2 separate regions of the Homo sapiens genome follow, and region 1 is linked to region 2. The links are contacts of gene promoters, found by promoter capture Hi-C in human tissues and cell types (Jung and others, 2019). All regions are on one chromosome and are shown on one strand. The core of a region is centred on a gene start or on the middle of the fragment in contact, and the rest is flanking DNA. Distances in the headings are between cores, read along the strand shown. Region 1 has its middle 44 kb from the start of PNLIPRP3. Region 2 holds the start of GFRA1 (GDNF family receptor alpha 1).

Region 1 (5,526 bases), core at 1,157-3,656, 110 kb before region 2:
AGAGATAATGCTTTTAAGGTACTCTAATGCACATTCATAGCTTGCAAGTAACTTACAATTTTCACTTCCTATTCTAGCAGGTGGTGGAAAGGTAGCATTCATAACCATTATCTGCCAATCAACAGTTTGATAATAGAAAGCTGTAAGGGACCATTGAGAGACCTACAAACTTTTCTGTGATGGGATGTGGGATCATTACTTTCTTCTGGTTTATTTCCATTGTTTTTATTGGTTGTTCAACATAGATAGGCTCTGAAATTAGCAAACATAACTACCATTTTTCAGCTAAGTAAACAGGCTCAGAAAGAGTAAGAAATAAGACAGGGTAATTCACCCAAGAAAGATAAACAACAATAAATGAATCCAGTTTCTTTAACTAGAGAATCAATAATTTATATTTAAATCCTTAAGCAATAAATATAGGTTAAATGAACAAGTTAATTGAAACCATATTTCAACACATATTATTGGACACTTCCTATATACCACACACTGTTCCAGGCTCTAAGGGATAAGCGATGTGCAAGATAAAGAATACTCTGCTTTCATGGAACTTCTGTTTTAGTGGTGATAAGTAGAACAGAAAAACAAGAAAGATGTCACAAATTATAAGAAGTATGAAGAGAATTTATAACTAGGATATGTCATAGTGTGACTGCGTGACTACTTTACATAGATTGTTTAAAGGAAGGCCTCTCTGAGGAGGTGACGTTTCACTTGACATCTGAATGACAGAAGCTGACAGCCATACAGAGATCAGGGGGTGGAGCAACCCAGGCAGAGGGAACATAGCTCATGAAATGATCCTAACACCAGAACAAGTTGGGCCTATTTGGGGGGCAGAAAGATCTGTATGGCTGGAGAGGAGTCTACAAGGAGGAGAGCTGGTATGGCATGAGTTCTGAGAGGTAGGCAAGAGCCAGGATGGATGGAGAGATGGATGAAAGAATGGATAGAAGGAAGAATACAAGGAGAAAGGAAATGAGCAAGAGCGCTAAGTTCAGGTTAATCAGATTCTTTTACATGTTGATCTTTCTGGATGTTTTCTATTAGTCACATTCCTGCCTTAGCAAGTACTGAAGAATGAATATAACCTTTATTATTTGATATTGTAAAAAGGTGCCATTCCTCAGGTTATCACTTTAAATATCAATGACCACAGGGTAGTGCTGGAAAAAAAGAAAAAACACACATCTGTAGAAAGTGTAATAAAGCAGGATGAATAGGTGTTACTTTCAAGAGATAGCCAGAAGGCGAATTTTCAATAACACTTGATTTGAGTCTGTTTTATTCTGATTTGCCCCTTTCTTCTCAAGGAGTGTAGAAAGATATTCTTAGTTAATTAAAGATTCATATTTGCTGATTCTGATTAATCGATGTTTTCTGGTACCAAAGGGTGATTTAAATAATTCTTAAATTTCTCTTATCTTCTAATATTTACCTGTTATGTAAGATTTTATTGTAAGCACGTTTTCAAAAGCAATATATATTTAAGCTGTGTTAGAAATGAAACCCAAGCAATTAAACTGTAAATAAAGAGGGCCTCTGCTCTGTGTGACCTCATGCAAATCAGATCATCAATCAAAACCTCAGTTCCCCCTCTAAAAATGGCATATCTGATTGGTCTACAACTAGAATCTTGATAAAGAGCTTTGATTTTATTGAATAAAAAGGCTACTATAAATATAATCTTGATATTTTACTAACGTTAATTGGCTCCAGATTGTAGAGCTGACATTATGCTGACCCTATGACTACCCTCAGGTCACCCATTCCCAGTCAGGAGCTTCTTTGTCTAAAGTCTACAAAAACTGTTTCAACAACCACATCACTTAATGGTGGCTTAAATTTGTAAATACTTTCAGTAATCACAAAGCCATATCCAGAAATATCATTAGTAATTGTATTTGCATCTATTAAATGTAGATTAAGAGGATTTTATTTTAACAAGGTTTTATTTACCAACTAATTAGAATGACAATTTATTACAAGTGTGAAAATAATTAACTTCGAATTATTCAAGTAGTGTAGTTCTTCTGGTTGTAAGAAAAAAATAAAATCATTTTCTCCCACTCAATCAATGGGCCTTGTTTGGAATAGCTACTTATATCAGACATTGTTATTAATTTCACATATTCACCTATTCTTTATTTTCCCAGACATCTGAATTCTGGTGCTGTTTATTTCATAGAGGCCTTTTAAAGACAAATTCACTCTGTATCAAAAGCTGTTTAAATCAGCATTCAATTCTGACAGCTTTGCTCTTGATACTTTTCATAGCAGCAGCTGGGAGACCACTTTACCATCAGTCATGGCTTTTTTTTCCTCCAGTCAAAGTATATGTTCTACGGTAAGCATTGCCCTGCAAAATTTTTTCCTCATGTTTAATAAATGTGACCTTACGTATAATTAACAACAAACAGATAAAATCCTGTTTCTCCCTTTTAAAGCAGGGGAAAGTTATTACTTGATTTCCCTCGTGTAGTAGTCAATGCTGTCTTGATATTAGTCTTTTGCCAAGTGTCAGTAAAATAACAAATAAAGCTTCTTTACTGCTGTGATGATTTGACCATTAGCAAACCAAGAAAAAACTTACTTAACTTGAAAATATAATGTTTAGAAAGCACAAATGCAACTGATTATACATTCCGACCTCAAATATTTTCAAAAGATAACTTCATCCTTTCCATTCTTACATTTTAAAAAAATCTATTGTCTTAAGATAAAAGAGCCACAAAACCCCAAGATGTAATCCCTGCTTCGGGCTAATGACGAAAAATATTTTTTATTTTTAGTTCACATCCTGAAAAAAATTCCCTTGACAGAAAATGTTCTGAACTAGATTCTGAGAGGCAAACATTTTCTTTACTAAAGTTTTTCTGGATGACAAAAGGAGAGAAGAGGGGTCAAAAAAGAAACATAAAAGTTCACCTAAAATAGATCAGCTTCAAATGTTAAAATACTTTTTAGTACATTAAGCAGCTTTTAAATTTCAAATTTTATACTATAAATACTTGAATCACAGAACACCTTACCCTGATACACCCGGCATTAAGATAGTCTCATATTTATTTCTAATCATGTCACTGAACTGCTACTGTTTCCTAGGCTGCAAATAAATGATTTATTCATTATAGTGTGACACAGTTATGTATGATTGATTGGTATAAAATATAAAGGGACTTTGTCCTCCACAGGAGCTTTGAACAGGGCCTGTCCAGTGCATGCTGTCTGTCCATCTGCAGCTACCCAGCTAAATTACTGCTTGCCCTTCTGGTAATGGACTCAGTGGATTTTTTCACAGCATAATTTCCATCCTACAAAAAATTACTAATCCCAATTGACTCTGTTTTAAGGCATTTCTAGATTCCAATTCATTATAATACAATGACCTCTACCTTACCTTAGCCTTTTCAGAATCTCATCATGGTTTTTCAAGTTCCAAGAAAAAAAAAGCAGGCAGGCAATTTTTTGTTTGTTTCTTTTAAAAAACAAACCACTACTATTGACAAAACAATGATAGAATAGAAATCATTCTGATTGTAGATACCTTAAAGCTTTTCTTTACTTTTCCTCCCATTTCAATAATTAGGCCAGGGAAGGAAGAAAGGAATTTCTAGGCCAGTGGTCATGCTCCACATCCTATGATTTTGTCGCTGTTTTTCCCCCAGTGTAATAGCTCCATTAATCAGCAGAGAATTTCGCAGCAAACTGTCTCTACATTTTAATATTATCCTCAGTGGAGTACTGAGAGTTAGAAAGTTGCTTCTCAAAGAACTTGAGTTACATTAAAGAACTATGGTGGCAAGCCACAAACCTCAGAGCAGTATCAGTGTTACTTTGGGTTAGTTTGCGTTTTGATCATAACTAAGTATACGGAAAATTTAATGAATTTACTTAATGAATGGACATTCGTTTAAAAATTGCCTTTCTGTATAGCCAAAGTCTTACTTCCAGAGTAACTGAATTCAGTCTGAGACATATTTTTACCCAGATAAGTTCAGTTAATTTTCCTACTTATGAGTTTTATGACTTACTAATTCTTAAAAAAAACCCTAAAAACAGACTTAATCTACTCCTAATATTTTATCTTGATGTGCAGTTTAGTTTCACACACTGTGATTTCTATTGATTGCTGTATTTCCTTTGTTTCAGATAACTTGTTCCTTTAATTACATTGATTCTAATCGTTCAGTTATTTTGATTGGTATCACATGGATACCGCTTTCTATTACTCTATCATGCAGTGCTAAAATAATTATTTGATTATATGAAAATGAGTTTAAATCTTAAATTATGCATTTTAAGCATTTTAAAATAATAAAAGTACCGAACCTTCAGTTTTATTCTCAAATTCAATTCATTTGAATACTGATTCTGTTACTGAATATTTAATCTAGATATTCTATATGACACACATGTGAAAGAACGGTTGTATCGGTAGCAGTTTATTCTGCATATATGCCATTGTGTTAGTAATTCAAATAGGTGGCTGATCTCTAGTTCACATTAATATTTTAGCTACAAAACCAATAATGAGCAAAAATTACTGGTAAGTGAAAGAAGCTTTACGTGTAAATTCTGCATACTAAATATATATAGCAAAAGAGATTCACAGGACTCTCCAGGGTAGACAAATAGACTAAAATAAGACAGAACTGAGGTCATGACAAATCCCAATAACCATTTCCCGCTCTGTATTTGCATATAAAATATATTGCAATTCTCTGCCACCATTCATTTTTTTCTTCCTAAGCAAAAATAATTGATTACTAATTTAAATATTTAAAAAATAAAATTAGAAATTACTTTTGAAAATTGCAAATTATTTAAACACATGGCAATTGCTATATATCCTGAAGGAGAGTGTTTCAACTTTGCTAATTTCTGAAAAATAAGGGTGTTAACATATACAAAAAAACTATGTCTAAATAAGACTTGCTCTGAAATAAGACTTGCTTAGGCTCTGCTCTGAGATTTAGATAAACCTAAGTACTCTACCTTAACATTAATAGATAAATGAATTCAACTACAACCACAAAAGAAAGCATGGTTCTAACATTAGCCCTCATTATTTTGAAATATATCCCCAAGTAAGTTTTCTTCCTAACCTGCTCCAATCTAGGGCCTTGTTGAATTGTTGCAATAAACTTTTATTTTTATTTTATTTGTGATTTGTTTTTAATTTCCATAGGTTATTGGGGAACAGGTGGTGTTTGGTTACATGAGTAAGTTCTTTAGTGGTGGTTTGTGAGATTTTGGTGCACTCATCACCTGAGCAGTATACACTGCACCCAATTCGTAGTCTTTTATCCCTCACCCCCTTCCTACCCTTTCCCCCTGAGTCCCCAAAGTCCATTGTGTCACTCTTATGCCTTTGCATCCTCATAGCTTAGCTTCCACTTACGAATGAGAGCATACAATGTTTGGTTTTCCATTCCTGAGTTACTTCACTTAGGATACTATTCTCCAATCTCATCCAGGTCACTGTGAATGGCATTAATTCATTCCTTTTTAGGCTGAGTA
Region 2 (6,184 bases), core at 2,867-5,366:
GGTAAATCTGTCAAGCTGTCTGATGTCAAATGTTGAACTTTCATGGACTAGAATGAGTTAAAAAAATCTGAATGCTTTTTAAGCAGTAGAATTTTACAAAATGGAGGGCCAAGGAAGGCAATGAGAGAAACAGACAAAATGCTGCATGGAATAAAACTGTCATTCTCATCCTGACTCATCTGTTAACTTATGAAAATACACTTACATCAAGAAATGCCAGAAAATTGCTCACTTCACGTGCTTATGGGTAGATTGAACCTAATTTTGTGGCATTAAAACCAATTTTCTGCTGAGCAACATGTCACAGAGGATTACATGAACCTTTATAATTATCAATAATATTTGATACTTTGATGTCACCTTTCATCCTGAGATCAGTCCCATACACATAGGAACAGATAAGCTCCAAGGAAACAGAGATGATATTAATACATTAAGTCACAATGCTTTTCTGTCTTCGATATTCCAAGGGCAGTGTGTTTCTCTCACCTTTAGAAGTTAGTGGATGTAGGCCGGGCGTGGTGGTTCACGCCTGTAATCCCAGCACTTTGGGAGGCTGAGGTGGGTGGATCACAAGGTTAGGAGTTTGAGACCAGCCTGGCCAACATACTGAAATCCCATCTCTACTAAAAATACAAAAAAATTAGTTGGTTGTGGTGGTGGGTGCCTGTAATCCCAGCTACTTAGGAGGTTGAGACAGGAGAATTGCTTGAACCCAGGAGGCAGAGGTTGCAGTGAGCTGAGATCATGCCACTGCACTCCAGCCCAGGCGACAGCTCGAGACTCTGTCTCAAAAAAAAGAAGAAAAAAAGAAAAAAAAAAGTTAATGGATGTAGTTGTAAAGCAGTGATTTTTTTAATTATTATTTTTATTAGCTCCTACTACGGGAAGTCTTAGGCTACAGTATGGGCCACATCTTTCTGTTCACAGCTTTCCTTGGAAGATCAGCTTTTGACATATAGATTCTCCTACTCCCTGGCTTCTTTGCCTGCTGATCTCATCCTGACATACCAGAAGTGGGCTGTGTCTTCATCGATTCTTTGACTTCTACAAGAGACTAACAAGGCATCATCATCATCATCATCATCATCATCATCATTATCCTTCCAACTACAACCCCCAGTACTGCTGCTGCTTATGAAGTAAGCACTCTATGCACTATTCTACTATTCTAAAAACTTTATATATGTGTATATACCACATTAACTAATTCCACACCAACATTATAGGGTAGTGCTGTCCAGTAGAGCTTGCTGCAATGATGGAAATGATCTATATCTGTGTTGTCCAATATGGTAGCCACCAGCCACATGTAGCTATTGAGCACTTGAAATATGGTTAATGCTACTGAGGAACTGCATTTTTCTTTTATTTAATTTTAATTAATTTCATTGACATAGCCACATGGCTAGTGACTATTGTATTGGACAACACAGTTACAGCCTCTGGGGGTTTATTGTTACCTTTTTAAAAACAAAGCTCTGTATTCATCAGCAGCACAAACTTAATAAGGACAAGTGTGAGTGAATGGTTCAGAAATACATTATTGAAGCTAAAAATACAGATGATCCTTGACTTCCAATGAGGCTTATGCTCTGATAAACTCATCAAAAGTTGAGAACATCATAGGTTGAAAATGCATTTAATACACTTAAACTACCAAGCATCACAGCCTAGCCTAGCCTACCTTAAACATGCTCAAAACACTTACATTAGCCGGCAGTTGGGGAAAATTATCTAACACAAAGCTATTTTATAGTAAAGTGTTGACTATCTCATGAAACTTATTCAATACTAACCTGACAGTGAAAAATAGAATGATTGTATGGTCCATAGTCAAAATACAGTTTCTACTGAATGTATATGGCTTTTGCACCATGGTAAAGTCTAAAAATATAAGTAGAAGCATCATAAGTTGGAGATCATCTGTATTTTAAAAAGAAGTCCCATATTCTACACTGGGAGAGCTTTTAGTTCACCCTTCCCCCACCCTGTTAAAATTTGATTCAAAAGAATTCCGTGGAATATATAGGGTAACATGAAGTCATTTCTAAACAAAGAACATTTACAAAAGATGTGGATGATGTCTTAAACCTCATTGTAATCCAACTATCCCAAGTAATCAGCACCGGTAAGCACTAGTCCCTCTATTGAAAATTGAAATTCCAATTACTGATTTTCCAAAAGAAGACATTCTCCTCCACTTACGAAATGGAACAATGAAAGAGGATTTTCTGTTTGGGGTGACCGGGGAGAAACGGAGTCTTCACACAAAGTCTTAGTTCATATTCAGCCCTCCTTTCCTTGAAACCACATCCCCAGGATTTATCTGGCTTGTTTGTGAAAATATGGGAAAACATTTTAAGTCGAAGAAACTGATCAGATGACTTAATTACATTTCTGCTTAGTTCAGCCTGTAACTTAGACTGTTAGAGAGAGAGAACTTAAGTAGCCCTTGGTTTGAACCATCTGTCGCGAAAATGTGACATATGTTTGCTTTGTTTACTCAACAACCAAGTGTAAACTGATACACTGAACTAGAGTATCCCTGAATGATGTGGCTATGGGTGTGTGTGTGTTGGAGGAGGGGTGTCTGATGAGGGCGTCCGTCTCCTCATACTTACCCTGGAGGAACACGCGTACAGCACAAGAGAAGTGCGGATCCGTAGGATGTCCCCCGGGTTTGGGGCGCGCCCCGAGGCGCAGACCCTCTTTGGCGACTCCACACAATATGCAGCCCGCCTGCAAGCAGCCGCTGCAGCCGAGGGGCGCGCCTGGCTGATGTGTGGTTGAATGGAGAGCGGCCCAACCCTCCTCCTTCCTCCTCTTCTTCTCCCCGCCCTGACACCCGGGCCTCAAACTTCAACCAAAGCCCGTGCCCTTTTCAATTTACCCCCCTCGATCAAAATGAGCCATTCTTGTCTGTCCTCCGCGGCGGCCCATTGTCTGGCGTGATAGGTTTGCAGATTTGACAGCTGGGCGCACGCAGATTTGATTCAAACTCGGTCTCCCCGAGAGATGAACTTGGACATCAGCAAAGATCCCGAGCACTGCCGGCTGGCTCCTAGACCGGTCTCCCGACCCAGTGTAGACTTCGGTGCCCCGGGCGCCCCCCGGCGTGCGGGAAGGGGAGCGTGTGTCAGGCGTGGGGGGCGGGGGGTGAGCAGCACGACTGGGAACCAGCGGTCCCAGGGGTTGGGGCGAAGGGCTGTGTACATGTTAGGCTTTTTTTGTTGTTGTTAATTTACTCTCGAAACAGCCAAAATGGAGGTCAGCTTATAAATTTTCTAAAGCCAGGTCTGGCCGGGTTTAAATGCAGTGGGCTGGGGGCTCCGCTTTTGTCTCCTTGTCGGAGCTCCAGGAGAGAGGTAGAGACTGCGTGTGCATGTGTGCGTGTGAGTGTGAGTGTGCACGCGCTGGCGTGGACGAACGGATGGGCGCATCCCAGGATCGCCGCTCCAGCGTCCTGGGTCTGAGTGTGTCTTGAAAGCACCAAGTCTTGAATCACAGCCACTAGTGACGTGGGGGAAAACTTTGTGTTCCGAAGAAGGGTCTGGCTCGATTGCCCTAAGAAGAAAGAGCCCTTGTGCCCGTGTATGTGTGTGTGTGTGTCTGTGTGTGTGTGTGAGAGAGAGAGAGAGAGAGAGAGACAGAGAGAGAGAGAGAGAGAGAGAGTGTGTGTGTCTGGCAGCACCCGCGGCCGGCTGCAGAACACTGCGTGTCCTGTGCGCGAGTACGGGTCCGGCCGCGGGTCCCACCGCAAGCGGGCGTGTGCAGCTGCGGCTGCCTGGCGGGCGAGCTTAGGAGGGAGCTGGAGCTGCGGAGCGGCGGGAACAGGAGCAGGCCGAGGGTCCTCTGGCCAGAAGAAATCTGGCCTCGGAACACGCCATTCTCCGCGCCGCTTCCAATAACCACTAACATCCCTAACGAGCATCCGAGCCGAGGGCTCTGCTCGGAAATCGTCCTGGCCCAACTCGGCCCTTCGAGCTCTCGAAGATTACCGCATCTATTTTTTTTTCTTTTTTTTCTTTTCCTAGCGCAGATAAAGTGAGCCCGGAAAGGGAAGGAGGGGGCGGGGACACCATTGCCCTGAAAGAATAAATAAGTAAATAAACAAACTGGCTCCTCGCCGCAGCTGGACGCGGTCGGTTGAGTCCAGGTTGGTGGCATTTGGAGTTTTTTTCGTTCTGTTTGGGAACCCATTGCCGCTTCCCGTCCCTCTTCCCCACTCCTTCTTCCCCCCTCCTCCGGCCACCCCTTTCTTTTTGCTGGCGTCTCCCAACTTTAGGGCCCGGGGGGCGCTCGTGGCGCCGGGCTGCACCTGCCGGGGCACGCCGGGACTGCGGGCCGGCGCGCTCGCCCTGGGCTGGGGTGCGGAAGCGCCCGAGTCCTGGGCACCGGGCGAGAGTGTGAGAGGAGCGGACGCCCAGGAGGGAGCCGAGGACGCGCGGCGGGTAGGGGGTAGGGGCGCAGGAACCGGGTTTCAGCCCCAGTCGGGACATCGGTTCCCCCTGGCTTGGCGGCCTCTGGAGGGAGACGAGTCCCGGGGAGAAGGAGGGCGGCGACTGGGGCTAGGGATTGGCGATCGGAGTGGGGAGGGCCGGCGGCTGAGCGAGCTCGCTGGCTGACGCGAGGAGGGGGAGGCCAACTTCCCGGGAGAAGGGGCTCTTTCGGCGCCAGGGCTGGCTAGGGAGCTGCCGCCGCCGCCACCGAGGGCTCGGACTCCAGGCAGCTGCAGGCTCCGCTCGCGACGCTCGGAAAGTACCGTTTATTTATTTATTTGCTTGCGTTCAGCGTCTCGGGTTGAACCCAACAGACACCCCCTTGGACTTTAGGAACCCTCTTCAGACCTCTCCAGCCCTCACCTCCATCCCCGTGTCAGCGGCCCCTGGAAAACACGCACATGCACCCCGACCTGGGTGGGGGTGGGTCCTCACCCCGGTGTTGGAAATTCCCCAAAGGCGGGAACGGGGGAGGGGAGAGGGTTCTGTGGGGGGAGTCTCCGGCGCTCTCCGCTCTCATCTCAAAGCGCGCCCTCCCTTCCAGGTTGGGTCGGACCTGAACCCCTAAAAGCGGAACCGCCTCCCGCCCTCGCCATCCCGGAGCTGAGTCGCCGGCGGCGGTGGCTGCTGCCAGACCCGGAGTTTCCTCTTTCACTGGATGGAGCTGAACTTTGGGCGGCCAGAGCAGCACAGCTGTCCGGGGATCGCTGCACGCTGAGCTCCCTCGGCAAGACCCAGCGGCGGCTCGGGATTTTTTTGGGGGGGCGGGGACCAGCCCCGCGCCGGCACCATGTTCCTGGCGACCCTGTACTTCGCGCTGCCGCTCTTGGGTAAGTCGAGGCCCGCCGCGGGCTTTCTTACCCTCTGAGTCTTTCCTAGGGTCGCTTGCAGCAGCCCACCCCGCCCTCCGCACCAAAATTGGGGCGCGGGTGTGGTGGATGTGGAAGGAAGAAGTGTCTTTTTGGGGAATGGGATCGCGAATCCCCGGGTTAGGGAGGCGGTGGCGGCGCGGCGCTGCCTGAAGCTTTTCGGGCTTGGTTTTGATTTCCTGTGGTTTTTAATGACCCAACTTGGCGGGGGACTAAGAAGCCCTCCAGCCCAGGGCCCTGCACCCCCAGAGAGTCTCTGGGAGCTCGCGGAGCCGCGGCGGGCAGGTGGAGTTGGGGAGCATTGGGGCCGGGAGAGCAAACTTGGAAGAGAAAAGTTTTTCCCGAGTAGCTTCTGGGCACTCTCCGCCCGGCGGACCGCTGACCATGGCTGGCCTGCCCCGCGCCCAGCGCGCGCCCGGTGCCCAGTCCGCCGCCGCACTTCTCCTCGGAAAGCGCCTGAGTTTCAGCCGGGCGGAGCGGGTGGCTGGAGCCGGGGGTGGCCCGGGAGCCCGGGTCGTTGCTCAGGCCAGGATGCCCCGGGGCGGAGGGCCGACGTGCGCGGTGGGCAGCGCAGGCTCTGGAGCAAACCCTTGAAGCCCGCGGGCTGAGCCTGCGCCACTCTTCCTTGCGGGCCCGGGAGGAGGAGAGAGGAGCTGGAATTCCAGGGGGCGGGAAAATGGACTCCCGGATGGTCGAGAGGTGGACCCGCTCCCAGAGCAGGGCGCCCCCGAAGGCTGGTCAAGCATCCCTGACCCGGGCGCGCGCCCTCGCCCGGAGCAGGGGCGGCCGGGGTCCCCGCCCGCCGCACTCAGG

What was found. Contacts are between HindIII fragments. The study calls those that stand out against the background at their distance.
Region 1: a contact is called between a fragment that was not itself captured here and the fragment with the promoter of GFRA1 in region 2, in 2 of the 25 tissues and cell types used here (H1 embryonic stem cells and adrenal gland).

The regions. Positions count from the first base shown.
Region 1 is chr10:116,380,746-116,386,271 of GRCh38, reverse strand. No RefSeq gene overlaps it. Among named protein-coding and RNA genes, the nearest start is that of PNLIPRP3, 44 kb to the left of the region's middle. The HindIII fragment of the contact is 3,312 bases long and covers 751-4,062 here.
Region 2 is chr10:116,271,138-116,277,321 of GRCh38, reverse strand. GFRA1 (GDNF family receptor alpha 1) reads left to right here and starts at 4,116. Exons shown (of 11, transcript NM_005264.8): 1 at 4,116-4,159; 2 at 5,047-5,332. The coding sequence starts at 5,293. LOC107984273 (a long non-coding RNA gene) reads right to left here and starts at 3,313. Exons shown (of 2, transcript XR_001747598.2): 1 at 490-3,313. RefSeq lists a silencer at 3,611-3,905 and an enhancer at 3,114-3,951. The HindIII fragment of the contact is 12,805 bases long and covers 1-6,184 here.